Linked DNA regions of Homo sapiens: region 2 is linked to region 1. The links are contacts of gene promoters, found by promoter capture Hi-C in blood cells and fetal thymus (Javierre and others, 2016). All regions are on one chromosome and are shown on one strand. Each heading gives the region's core, a stretch centred on a gene start or on the middle of the fragment in contact. The rest is flanking DNA. Distances are from core to core; before and after follow the strand shown. Region 1 overlaps AHCYL1 (adenosylhomocysteinase like 1). Region 2 holds the start of MYBPHL (myosin binding protein H like).

Region 1 (6,316 bases), core at 2,448-4,947:
ATCGCTTGAACCCGGGAGGCAGAGTTTGCAGTGAGCCAAGATCATGCCATTGCATTCCAGCCTGGGCGACAGAGTGAAGCTCCATCTCAAAAATAAATAAATAAATTAGAAAAAAAGTATATACATATACAATTCCTCATTAAACTTCTGTTTACTTACTCATTCATTTCTATTAGCAGAGTCATAGTTTTCTATTTTGTTCAATGGATTACAAATCATTACTATGCTGATGCTCAGGTTGTCTCAGATTTACCCCATGTAAATCCCTTACAGCTGGCTTATGTATCCTTTTTTAAGGCCTTCCTTGCTTTCTGGTTTATCTTGTACTTTTTTTTGCTCTGCCATGGAATCAGTCATCTCTCCAACGAGTCCTGGCTTCTTTCGGTGGAGAATGTAGTGCCTAGACCTCGAGGTCAGGTATGTGCACTGGGGGAAGAGGGGAACTGCTGCTCCAAGGCTTGCTTAGTAGAGAGAGCTAGGGAGTGTTTGTACACACACACACACGTACATTGACATCTGTATTTCTTTAACTAGGTTGATATTTATGACTTCACACTATCATCTCCTATTCAAACCCAACAGCAGAGTTCATTCTAGTGTTTTCCCTTTCCAATGTGTAACACCTTCCTCCAAAATGAGACAGCTGGCTTCCGCTACCCTTAATATTTTCACGTACAGTGATCAAATCCCTTATCCCTAACTAATCTGCCATTGCCATTCATCCCCTGCATAGATGCATTCCCCACGCCACTTGGGATCTGACTCCTTGTACCAAGCTACATCCCCAGTTCCCACAAGGATACCACCCACACTCACAGGCTGCAAATCCACATGAATCCCTAGCTTGCTCTGTCTTACCTAATGGCCAAATTGTGGGTAAAGGAAAAAGGGAAGGAATTTGGATCTTGTTGGAATTTTACGTAAACACCACAAAGGAAGAGATCATCTGATTTAAACTGATGTATCCCCAGTATCTAAAACAGACTTTGGCATATATGAGGTAATAGTTAGGTCCTTTTTGCCCTTCTACCTTCTGCTATATGAGGATGCATAAGAGGTACCATCTTGGAAGCAGGCAGCAGCCCTCTTCAGACACCAAATCTGCCAACGACTTGACCTTGGACTTCCCAGCCTCCAACTGTGAGAATATCAATTTCTGTTCTTTATAAATTACTCAGTCTCAGGATTTTGCTGGAGCAGCAGAAACTGACCAAGATAAATACTTTCTTACATCAGAAGACACTGGCCAGTAATCCCAGCACTTTGGGAGGCAGAGGCAGGAGGATCACTTGAGCCCAGGAGTTTGAGATCAGCCTAGATTTCATGGCGAAACCCCATCTCTACCAAAAATACAAACAATTAGCTGACACTGTGGTCCCAGCTACTTGGGAGGTTGAGGTGGGAGGATCACTTGAGCCCGGAAGGCAGAAGTTGCAGTGAGCTGAGATCAAGCCACTGCACTCCAACCTGGGTGACAGTGAGACCTTGTCTCAAAAAAATAAAGAGAAAAAAAAAAAAAAAAGACACTGAGACCACTTCAGAAATGGATACAGGTGTGGGAGGAGGCTGAAGCTTACATAACTTTGGGGGCATTCTTCAGAAATTAGGTCTTAGAAGGACTATGCAAATGAGGAACCCTGAGGCTTAAGCAGCAAGTCTGCTTCCTGAAGGAAGTTAGGAGTGAAAGTACCCAGGCCCGGTGCTTGGCACAGAGCAGGCATACAAAACTTCAGGTATTACTTTGAAGAATCCTGTATCCAGCCTCTATATATTAGGCCCTCAACAAATCTCTATTAAATGCTACTGACCTATAACTTGTCACACCCTAGAAAACAGGTTCTAATGAAGTTTTGCTGTTTAACAAAGAATGACACATACGGACTGCCAATAAGGTCTTATCATTTTAATCGATTTTAATGATTATTGCTCATCTGCAAGGATTAATATTGCATTCATTAAAAATCATTCAATACAAAATGAACTTGTTCTTCCCAAGTTGCTCTCCACATGCTCCCTCTGATGCCAGACTTTTTTTTTTTTTTAACAGTGTCCTTTGTTACATGGCTTGACAGAGACAGAGCCCTTACCTATTATTCCTATGGACACGGTAATAGATATGGGATCAAGGGGCAGGTCAGAGGGCAGGTGAATGTGGGTCCCTTCCCTCCAGCAGGGCTAACGTGATGGATACACTGTTGGCCAGGTTACCTCCCCTAACAGATGTGGTGTTCTGATTGGTTGGTTAAGTGCCCGAGGAAAATAGGCCTTAACTGTTAACATCTACAGAGAAGAAAGCATGGTCACACTGGCAAGGAGTAAGAAGGGATTGGGTAAAAGAAAATGGGAGAGAAAAGGGAAAAAAGTTTTGGCAAGACAATTGTTCCCTGCTAAGAAGCTGCAGGGTGAAAGCTTTCCTTTCTTCTATTTTTGTTTTTAATGTCTGTCTCTCTGATCAGTGGAAAAGTGAAAATTTCTAGTATCTAGCACTAACGTATGACCCAACTTTGAGGGATCACAAGCTAGAACAAGTTGAGGATTTAAAATCCTGGATAATTATATACTTAAAGCTCATGAGCATAAAGCTCACTTGACCATGCAGAAATGCTGGGAAGCAGGGTGCATGGCATGGGAATACATCTCCCTGATCTTTGAGAGAGCCTCTCTGGATATTCTTTCAGAGCATGAGCCAGGATGTACTGACTACTTTCTTCACACATCAGTTGCCCTTTATGATCTCAGTTCATAAACTCTTTGTGGTATGTAGCAATCAAAAGTCATATTACTTCTGTAAAACTAACATTATATAGGGTGTATAGTCCCAGACAAATTATATGAAGCTAGATTTTTCTTGCCCTGGCCCAATTTATCATTCCTCCTCCTGCCCACACCTACCTCCCTTTAAATATTTTAGGTTGCAGAAGCACAGCTGACCAGAAATTTGCTCTTAAAGATAAATCCTAAAGATAGAACTCAGTGCTTTATACTGAGTAATGGCTCAAGAAATTCGCCTTCAGCACAAGCTGTATGGTACACAGCTGATAGAATTTGCTGTTGTGGCTCCAGTTCACTGATGCTATGAACTACGGGCTAGAAACAGAGGGACTTAACAGGGCTTGAGACTAGCATTTCTCTAGACTCAGCATCCTTAGCTCCAAAGGTTCAAAAGAGAAATTGGTAACAACTAACCACTCAAGCAATTCCTCAGCATTAACACCAAAAATTCTCCTTAATTTTTCTTTTCTTTTTTTTTTTTTTTGGACAACAGAAATAAATCCTAGAGGACAAAATTAAACTCAATAGAGTGTAGTCTAGTTAAAAACTCGAAAAATGAGCAAGTCTGGTGGGAGTGGAGGAAGGGCTATACTATAAATCCAAGTGGGCCTCCTGATCTTAACAAGCCATGCTCATTATACACATCTCTGAACTGGACATACCACCTTTACGCAGGAAACAGGGCTTGGAACTTCTAAGGGAAATTAACATGCACCACCCACATCTAACCTACCTGCCGGGTAGGTACCATCCCTGCTTCTCTGAAGAAGTGAAAGAGCACTGATTTCAGCAGCTAAGAAATGGGCTCTTTTAAGGCGATTTAGACATTGCAGATTGTTCCACAGAGAAGGTACCTTAGCATTTCCTGTTAATAAGGTACCTAATTAAGACTAAAGTCCCCAGAAATGGTAAAGAAAGAATCACCTTTCTGGGCTGGGAGAGTAAAATCCTTCTTTAGTGACTAGAGTGAGGAACCCTGAACTTCTATTTCATCTAAAGAGCCATGAAGCAAGTTCCTGTGTGGTCTGCAGAACTTGGATAATGAGATGAAAAAACAAGAATGAAATTATAGGAAAAAAATCAAGAGGAAAGGAGTAAGAAGAAAATAAAAGTTATCTTAAAAAATATTTCTTTAGAGTGTGTGGTTCAGGTGGACTGGTCCTTGGTAGTATGGTCCATTAGTATCTGTAAAGAGAGAGAGTGATTGGTTAACACTTATGTCTTCCATATGAGAATTCCAAAAAACAATCGGAAACAGAGCACCTTCTCCAGGGCCCCTCCCCAGCCTGGGTGGGATCCCTGCAGTCATTCCCCAGGGCACCAGTCTCCCTTATTCTTCCACAGGGTCTCTGACAATGCCATTTCTGGTGTTACCGCCTGTTCCCAGGAATGAGTCAGTGTTTTTTCAACCCTGACTAAACATTACAATAATCTGGGGAGGTTTTACAAAATAATGTTTTGTAAATTTGGTCCCATCGCAGACCAAATATATCAGAATCTCTTAGGGTGAGGCCCAGGCTCCAAAATTTCAAAAAAACCCTAACTCCCTGATATCTCCCACAATTTCTCTATCTACCTTGTTAACTGGAACAGTTTTTTTGTTTGTTTGTTTGTTTTTAAGACAGAGTCTCACTCCATCACCCAGGCTGGAGTGCAGTGGCATGATCCCAGCTCACTGCAACCTCCGCCTCCCAGGTTCAAGTGATTCTCGTGCCTCAGCCACCTGAGTAACTGGGATGACAGGTGCCCGCCACCACACCCGGCTAAGAGATAGGGTTTCGCCATGTTGGCCAGGCTGGTCTTGAACTCCTGACCTCAAGTGATCCATCCGCCTAGGCCTCTCAAAGTGCTGGGATTACAGGCGTGAGCCACCGTGCCTGGCCTGGAACAGATTTCTTGTATTCTTCAAAATCAGGTACAACATTTGATCTTTATGTCAGAAGCAGGCTAGCCTGCTTGGTTTAATACTGGGAAAAAGAGCTTTTCACTTGCTTCTCCCCAGGTTACCTGTAATAATTAGGTTTGAATGGCCCATTTTTGTTGAGTCCCAGATATTTTGCTTGGTCATCTGTCAGCTCTGTAAGGTGGGCATCAAATGATGGCAGATGCAAGCTGGCAACGTATTCATCTAGGAAGAGCAAAGTGGCAGGAGAGCAGACTCCTTTTCAAAATGTCTCTCAAGTTATAACTTCCCATTTTCATTTGAAGCTTTTTTAAGAAAGCAGACAAGGGATGGAATAACTCTGAAAGAATCCACAACTTGAAATATTTGCTTAATTAAAAAAAAAACCTCAAAGCTGCCTTTCTGGGCAGGATGCTTCTCTCAGCACATGTACAGTGCGTTCAGAAAAGCCACTTACCAGGGTAACAAAAGGGAGTGGGCTTTTACCTCTCTATCCTTCTCTGGCAAAGCAGGGGGCTTCCCTGCAGTGGCCCACATGTCACATGCTACTCCTACCTTCCTGCAGCAACCTCCTTAACTAGATTATAGTCAAATTAGCAATCAAAGTGGACACCAGTAAGCTAGAAAGACCCTGTGTCAATAACACTCATTTAGGATAAGATCCATGGATCTTAGGATCATGAATTTCTAAGGTAGTCGGCACAGAATTTTTACTTTTCCATAGATAAGCTTCCCTTTTATAATTATACACTGAAAAAAAAGTCTGAAGTAAGCTATTGGAGGAGAGGAGAGCAAGAAGTATTTTAGCATTAAGAAGTCAGGGATTTGGGCTAGCCAAGGAGATATGGGAGATGGGTACACCGTGCAGAAAGGCAAAGGACTAGAGATGATGTATTATGTCACATGAACACAGCATGGGTTGCTTACAAGAGATTGGATGGTTTGCATATCCTCACAGAAAATGGACAATAAAACCTGTGTTTGTTTCTCTCATTTTGTTCCAAGGCTGTATGTACTCAGCTGCACTGGGAAGTTTACTGAACTTCATAAGGCTACTTAGAGTAAGAACATCTCCCTAAACCATTGTGTTAAGCACTGTTACTCATTAGCTGTGATTCTCACACAATTCTACAATGTATGTAGTATTATTTTCATTTTACCAATCAAGAAACTGAGGATCATAGAGATTAGAACTTGTCCTGAGGTCAAACAACCAGTAAGCACAGGAACAGGAATTGGAACTCTGACTCTAAATCCAATGCCTTTCATGGCAGTCATTTTACCAAACTATGCAGCTGTCTGCATAGATTTCCACTGTTTTTCACTCACCCATTTTCTTAGGAAGCAAGTACACATCCTGCTTGTATCGCCCCTCGGGTGCATTATAGAGTTCTATCAGTGCCAAAGCCTAAGGTGGGAAAAGAAGGCCAGAAAGCACAAAAATATTTCTTAGACAGGCACATAAAAATAAAACCAGGTTAAACAGCATTTGGGTAAGTACTACAGTGATCTACCACAGTCACAGTACCTAGGACTTTGCCTATACTAAAGGGCAGCACACATCCTAAGAGGATTTGTTGTTTTTGTTTAGTTCCTAACGAAAGAACAAATCAAATAAAACTAAGCTGGAACATTATATTC
Region 2 (5,887 bases), core at 434-2,933, 710 kb after region 1:
ACACCTTCGCTCCAACAAAGGGCTAAGACTCAGCCTGGGCCAATTTCCTCACCAAAAGATGGGTTACGTGTTGTGTAAAAGGGGGTGTATTTGGGGTCTCCTGGCTAGGAGACTGTCCACACTTACGGGGCCTTGGCTGGGTCAAGCAGGAAAAATAGTTCAGAAAGACCTTCAAGCTAGTTCTGATATGGCAAAAACCCAGTCTTCTGCCAACCAAATCAACCCCATAGGCCATCCAAGGCCCCAATAAACAGATTGTCCTGGGCCTTAGCTCCTATACCAGTTACAAAGAGGCTGAGCTTCTGTCACCCCAAGATAACACAGGCTCCTGGGATCTTACCAATTACCCCAAAATTGAAGGCAAAAATGAGTAAGAAGTCAGTCCATTTGTTCAACTGCACCCATTTTTTTTCCATGAAAAAAATACAGGGGTGAGTAGGGGGCTGTGGGAACCCTATACTTTCCACTCAGCTTTGCCGTGACTCTCAAACTGCTCTAAAATTAAAGCATTTTAAAATGCAGAGGGATGCTGGCTTCTGGAGATAAGAAGGTAGGAGTATGATAGGTGGCAGTGTCCATGGCATGTACAACACGTATAGAAAGATGGTTTGCTAAGTCTGGAAATCATGTAGGACCTGTAGTATGTGACTAGCACCTGCTGTGAGCTGGCCACTTTCCTATAGATTGTATCATTTTATCCTCAACACAATCATGGCATCATCCCTTGTTTCATAGACTGGGACTTGAGACTCCGAGTCGGCCATTTGCCCAGAGTCCCAGCTGGTGAGTGAGTGGTACAGCCAGAAGTCACACGCAGGTCTCTGAGCTCGCCTCCCTCCACCACTGCTGCCTCTCCCTTTATTTGTACTTCATCTAATAGGCAAGGCAGCCATTGACAGCTCTCAAAGGGGGAAGTGCTGGCCTGACCTAAAAATAGCTTACATTTATCAAGCACTTAGTCGGCTACACTCTGCTAAGCACTTTACAGAGATTACCTCTTTAATCCTCACAACGACCCTATGGTTATAATTATCTCCATTTTACAGATGAGGAAACAGACTGAAGAGAGACTGTGAGGTGTTGTGAGTCACACAGCTAGTTGGTGACAGAGCCCCAAGTGGCACCTGGGCAGCCAGTGCGAGTGCAGTCTCCACCTACCACTGCGCTGTGCCCGCTGCCCCCGGGGAGCGGGGGAGGATGGGACAGGCCCTGTAAAGGTCGAGTTGATAAGACTTTACAATTCATTGAATGTGGGAGCAGAGGGAGAAAGAGCAGTTCAGGCGTTGCTGTGAGTCAGCTAATCCTGGGCCCCTTCTTTGGGACCTGAATGCCCCACGGGATGAACTGGAGGTCAGGAGCAGAGATGTCACTCAACCCTCCCTACAGAAATTAGAGGTCCCTTTTGGATGGTGTGTTCAAGCTCTCCCTCCCTGGTGCTGTGGGGGGTGTCATCTCTCTCCCGAGATAACAGGGACACCTCAGTCCTCCTGGGGCTATTCTGGGCTGCTGTCTGATCCTCCTCTCTCCCCCAACCCCTACTTCAGCCTTTCTGCTGGGCGTAGCTGAGTGGGGAGGGCCAGCCCAGTTACGTAACCCTGTGGCTGGGACCCGGGAGGCCAGCCTGGGAGCAGGTGCTCAGCCCCTCCCTCATCACCAGCAGTGAAAATCTAGAGCTGGAGCTCAGCCTCTGGGAAGGCCCAGCATGGAGGCAGCCACAGCTCCGGAGGTGGCCGCAGGATCCAAGCTGAAGGTGAAAGAAGCCAGCCCAGCGGATGCTGAACCACCCCAGGCTTCACCTGGACAGGGGGCTGGCAGCCCCACTCCCCAGCTCCTGCCCCCTATAGAAGGTGACCCATGGCAGGTGGGGAGGGTGGGGAGGCCGGGTGGTGGGAGTTGGGGAAGACATCGCCACCTTCCTGAACGGCGCCTCAGGTTTTCTGCAGAGCTAAAGACTCTATAGGATTGGTGATTAGGCTGGAGATCATTCGTGAGAGCCCCCATCCCCTGTCCTTGATGGAGTCTAACTTGCTGCTCAAATGTCCCTGCTAAGTTTTTGTGTTTTAGCTGAGAAGTCAGTGATGGTGTTGGTGGCACTTTACAGTGACTAAAAATGATCTGTTTATATTTTTACCTTTTAAAAAATTGTCATAGGGACTGGGAAGACCTGATATACTAATGGCCAGTCAGGAAGGGACTGAGGGGTAAGAGATAGTGACTGTCTGCTGAAGGAACAGGGAAATAAAATGCTATGGCAATGGGGAGGCTAAGAGTGGGGCAGCACAGTGACACTCGGCCTCCTGCTGGGCAGTACCACGGGGTCAGGACCTCCTCCAATCCCCCACTGCTCCCATAGGAGATCCTGACCCCTCAGAGTCTGAGCTCCACGGAAGTGGAGCTCTCCTGGGAGAAGCATTCAATTTCCCCTTCACGATGGTCTCTGTGTGCCTCTCAGCAAAGAGGCGTTCCCAAGTGAGGAATTCCAACCCCGAGCTTCCTGCCGCCCATCCCTGAATGCCCTGGCTGAGGCCTCTGTAGCTAACCACTTCGTGGCGCTCACCTGAAAGTCTTAAGAGGATGAAAAGACCACAATCAAGAAACACGTGGACTCCTAGGGCAGGAAGAGGCAGGGGAAAAGATATACTAGACTTGGAGGCAAAGCTCTAGGCTCAATTCCTAGTGCCGCCTCTAACAGCCCTGTGACCTTGGACAAGTCACTGGACTGCTCAGTTTCCATTTTCACTCTGTAAAATGGTGATTAATAACATCTACCTATCAGGGTAGTTGAAAGGATTGCTGAGATGATCCAGGGTGCCTTGGAAGAGGCCAAACTAAGATGTAAATAAATGATCAAATATTTCCAAGTGAGAGGTGAAGGCTGCGTTCTACCTCCATAGGGTTGTGCAGCAGACTCTGTCTGCCTCTTATCCTCATGGGAGAGGCCAGGTTTCCAGAAACTATTTGAATGTCAAGGGCAGAGAGCTGGCCAAGTTTGTCCCGTTGAAGATGAAGGGAGCAAAAGTTAGTGTAAATATATTAAGCTGGGGTGATGGAGGCAGAAAACCAGTTTCTTCCCTTAAAAGGCCCAGAGAATAAGTGACAGGCAGCAGGAGAATGAGAGCCAGGACTGCTGACGCCTCAGCTCTCTCTACTGGTCTTCCCAAAAGCACAAGGGAGAGTGCTCATCTCCCCCATGCTTCTCCCCTCTGGCTGCAGCCAGCTCCTGACAGCCCCCAGTCACGGGCCCGCAAATGCAGCCCAAAGCCTCTCGTGTGCAGCAGCTCTGTACACTGCAGGCCTCAGGGCCACTAGCACCCAGTGGCTCAACCCAGTGGTATCCCAGAAGTCACTGGCAATAAGAACACCTTTGAATACTTTGCAAAATATATGTGCATCTGTTAACTACTTGGAACAAAGAAGTCATGAGTTCAAATCTTAGCTCTGTTCTGTGGCCCTAGGCAAGTCAATCCACTCCCATTTTCTCATCTGTAAATTGAGGAGTTGAACCAAATCAGGGTCTTAACCTTTTGGTGGATATGGACCCCTAGGAAAATCTAATGCCAGCTGTGGACTCTTGCCCCTGGAAAAATACACAAAAAAGTTCAGAGAGCCAACAGAGCCCCAAACCCCCACCAAAGATCCTTCAGGGTGCAATGCATGGGCCTGGACTAGATGACCCCTAAGCCCCCTGAGAGCTCCAAAGCCTTTCTTCCTCCTAACTCCTCTTCCTTACAGAGAGCTCTGGGACTGAGTATCACAGGAAGCATGTGAAAACATGGGAACTAGAGCAGGCATCAGAAATAGAAATTAATTTGCAAGATCAAAACCAACTGCAAATGGCCAACAATGAGCTTTTAGTTTGGCAAGCCTGCTACATGGCTAAATAAGCAGGAGTAGGTGGCCAGCATTGGTAAACAGTTCTATGTCTGTCCTCAGCACTACACTGAGTACTGTGTCCTGGAGACAAAGCTTGGCAGGGGCCAGAGAAGAGCTTCCAAAACAGGGAGAGGCTGGGGAACAAGCTGCATCCCTCCCATGGACAATGTGACACTCGGCCTCCTGCTGGGCAGTACCACGGGGTCAGGACCTCCTCCAATCCCCCACTGCTCCCATAGGAGATCCTGACCCCTCAGAGTCTGAGCTCCACGGAAGTGGAGCTCTCCTGGAAGAAGCATTCAATTTCCCCTTCACGATGGTCTCTGTGTGCCTCTCAGCAAAGAGGCGTTCCCTGGGACCCTGAGGTGGAGGAGAAAGAGCCCATCTGCTGACTTCAGCATCATCGCTCCAACTGACTCTGTGTTCTCTTTCAATCTGAACTGTTCTGTGTCTTCCAGGCATGGGAAACTGAATCTCATGCCTAGGAGTGACCTTTCTTCCCTCCTTCCTTCCGTCCTTCCTTTCCTCCTCCTTCCTTCCACAAATATTTAGGTTGTGCCTATGATGTGCCAGGCGCTCTTCTAGGTGCCAGAATTACAGAAATGAACAAAATAGGTAAAAATAACTGCCCTCATGGAAGTTAGATTCTAGTGGAGGGAGCTAGACAATAAATAAACAAGTAAAGTATCTAATATGTCAGATGGTGAGAAATGCTGTGCCAAAACTAATGCAGGGACGGGGATAGAACGTGCTTCGGGTAGGAAGCATGCAGGCTTCCTGCTTCAAATGGAATATTCAGTGAGGGTCTCACTAATAAGGTGACATTTGAGCAGCAACTTAAAGGATGTGAGAAAGCAATGCATGCAGATATTTGGGGGAATATTTTCCACACAGAGAGAACAACTGCAAGGACCCTGAGGCAGGAGTGTGCTTTATGGGTTGGGGCCATTGTGGCTGTAGCACAGGGAGGGAGACAGTGGCAGTATTTCAGTCTGAGAGGTAGCACGGCCGCTGTGAAGACTTTGGTTTGTCTACGAGACAGCCAGCCAGCCAGTGCAGGGACTGGGAGTAAGGACTGACAGGACCAAGTGTAGATTTTAAGGATTTTTCCAGCTGGCCATGTTAAGAATAGACTGTAGGTGGGCCTTAGACACTAGCAAGATCGACAACTGGGAATGAGAATGAGGGAGAAGGTAGGGAGGTTTTAGAAGAGAAAGGTGTGCGATAGTCACCCAGGACAATGGGAGACCGAGTGAACTTGGGAAGTCTAGTAGAATTGCCAGAGTTCACTTGGAGGTGGTGGTCACTATTAATGGCCCTCAAGTTAAACTCCATATAATTTTGTATTTTCCCCCAGTCCTGTTACTCTGTGCAGATACAGCCACTGAGTGGGTGGGAAGTTTATTTAACAAGGGTTAGGTATTGCCAAGAGAGTGCAATGAAGTCAAAGAGGACTCAGGGATTTGAGTGAGTGCAAGAGAGAGAGTATAATAATGACCGTGCAATCTAAGTTGGGTGGTGAAGAAAGTGCTAACATGAAAGGGGTGCTAGGTAGTGAGAGGGTGGTAGGACAATGGATCACAGATCTCAGTGGTGCCAAAGAATTGCTGGTGTTGGAGCACTGGAGGAAGTGAGCTAAAGGGATAAAGATTATATTAGTTAGGTATACTAGTGAATGAAACAGGTCTCAGGAATGACATACATCTATTTCTCACTAGCGTAAGAACTAAAAACTATTCTGCAGATAGTTCTCCTCCATGTGGTAATCCAAGGACCCAGGCCTCTTTCATCTTGGGGCTCTGCCATTCCTTAGGGCCCGTGATCATCTGTGTACAGCTAGCAGAAGAGGAAAATAGAAATCTAACTTCTTCAAAGCCTGGGACCAGATGTGATTCTCACCATTGCCACTTACGTCTCATTGGCAAAAACTGGTCGCGTAGCCATCCAGCAAAAGGTGGCCGGGCAGCCACTTCTCAGAGATAGCTACGCTACGGAAGGGGTAACATACATTTTT

The links. The method cuts DNA at HindIII sites, captures the fragments that hold promoters and counts their contacts. A CHiCAGO score of 5 or more calls a contact.
Region 2: the fragment with the promoter of MYBPHL here is called in contact with a fragment that was not itself captured in region 1 in 1 of 17 cell types (M2 macrophages); the score reaches 5.1 in M2 macrophages.

Annotation. Positions count from the first base shown.
Region 1 is chr1:110,019,315-110,025,630 of GRCh38, reverse strand. It overlaps AHCYL1 (adenosylhomocysteinase like 1), which reads right to left. Exons shown (of 17, transcript NM_006621.7): 15 at 6,005-6,083; 16 at 4,780-4,900; 17 at 1,889-3,957. The coding sequence ends at 3,951. Among named protein-coding and RNA genes, the nearest start is that of STRIP1, 12 kb to the left of the region's middle. The HindIII fragment of the contact is 2,571 bases long and covers 2,412-4,982 here.
Region 2 is chr1:109,302,807-109,308,693 of GRCh38, reverse strand. It overlaps MYBPHL (myosin binding protein H like), which reads left to right and starts at 1,683. Exons shown (of 9, transcript NM_001010985.3): 1 at 1,683-1,847. The coding sequence starts at 1,703. RefSeq lists enhancers at 687-1,425, 1,426-2,165. The HindIII fragment of the contact is 12,327 bases long and covers 1-3,968 here.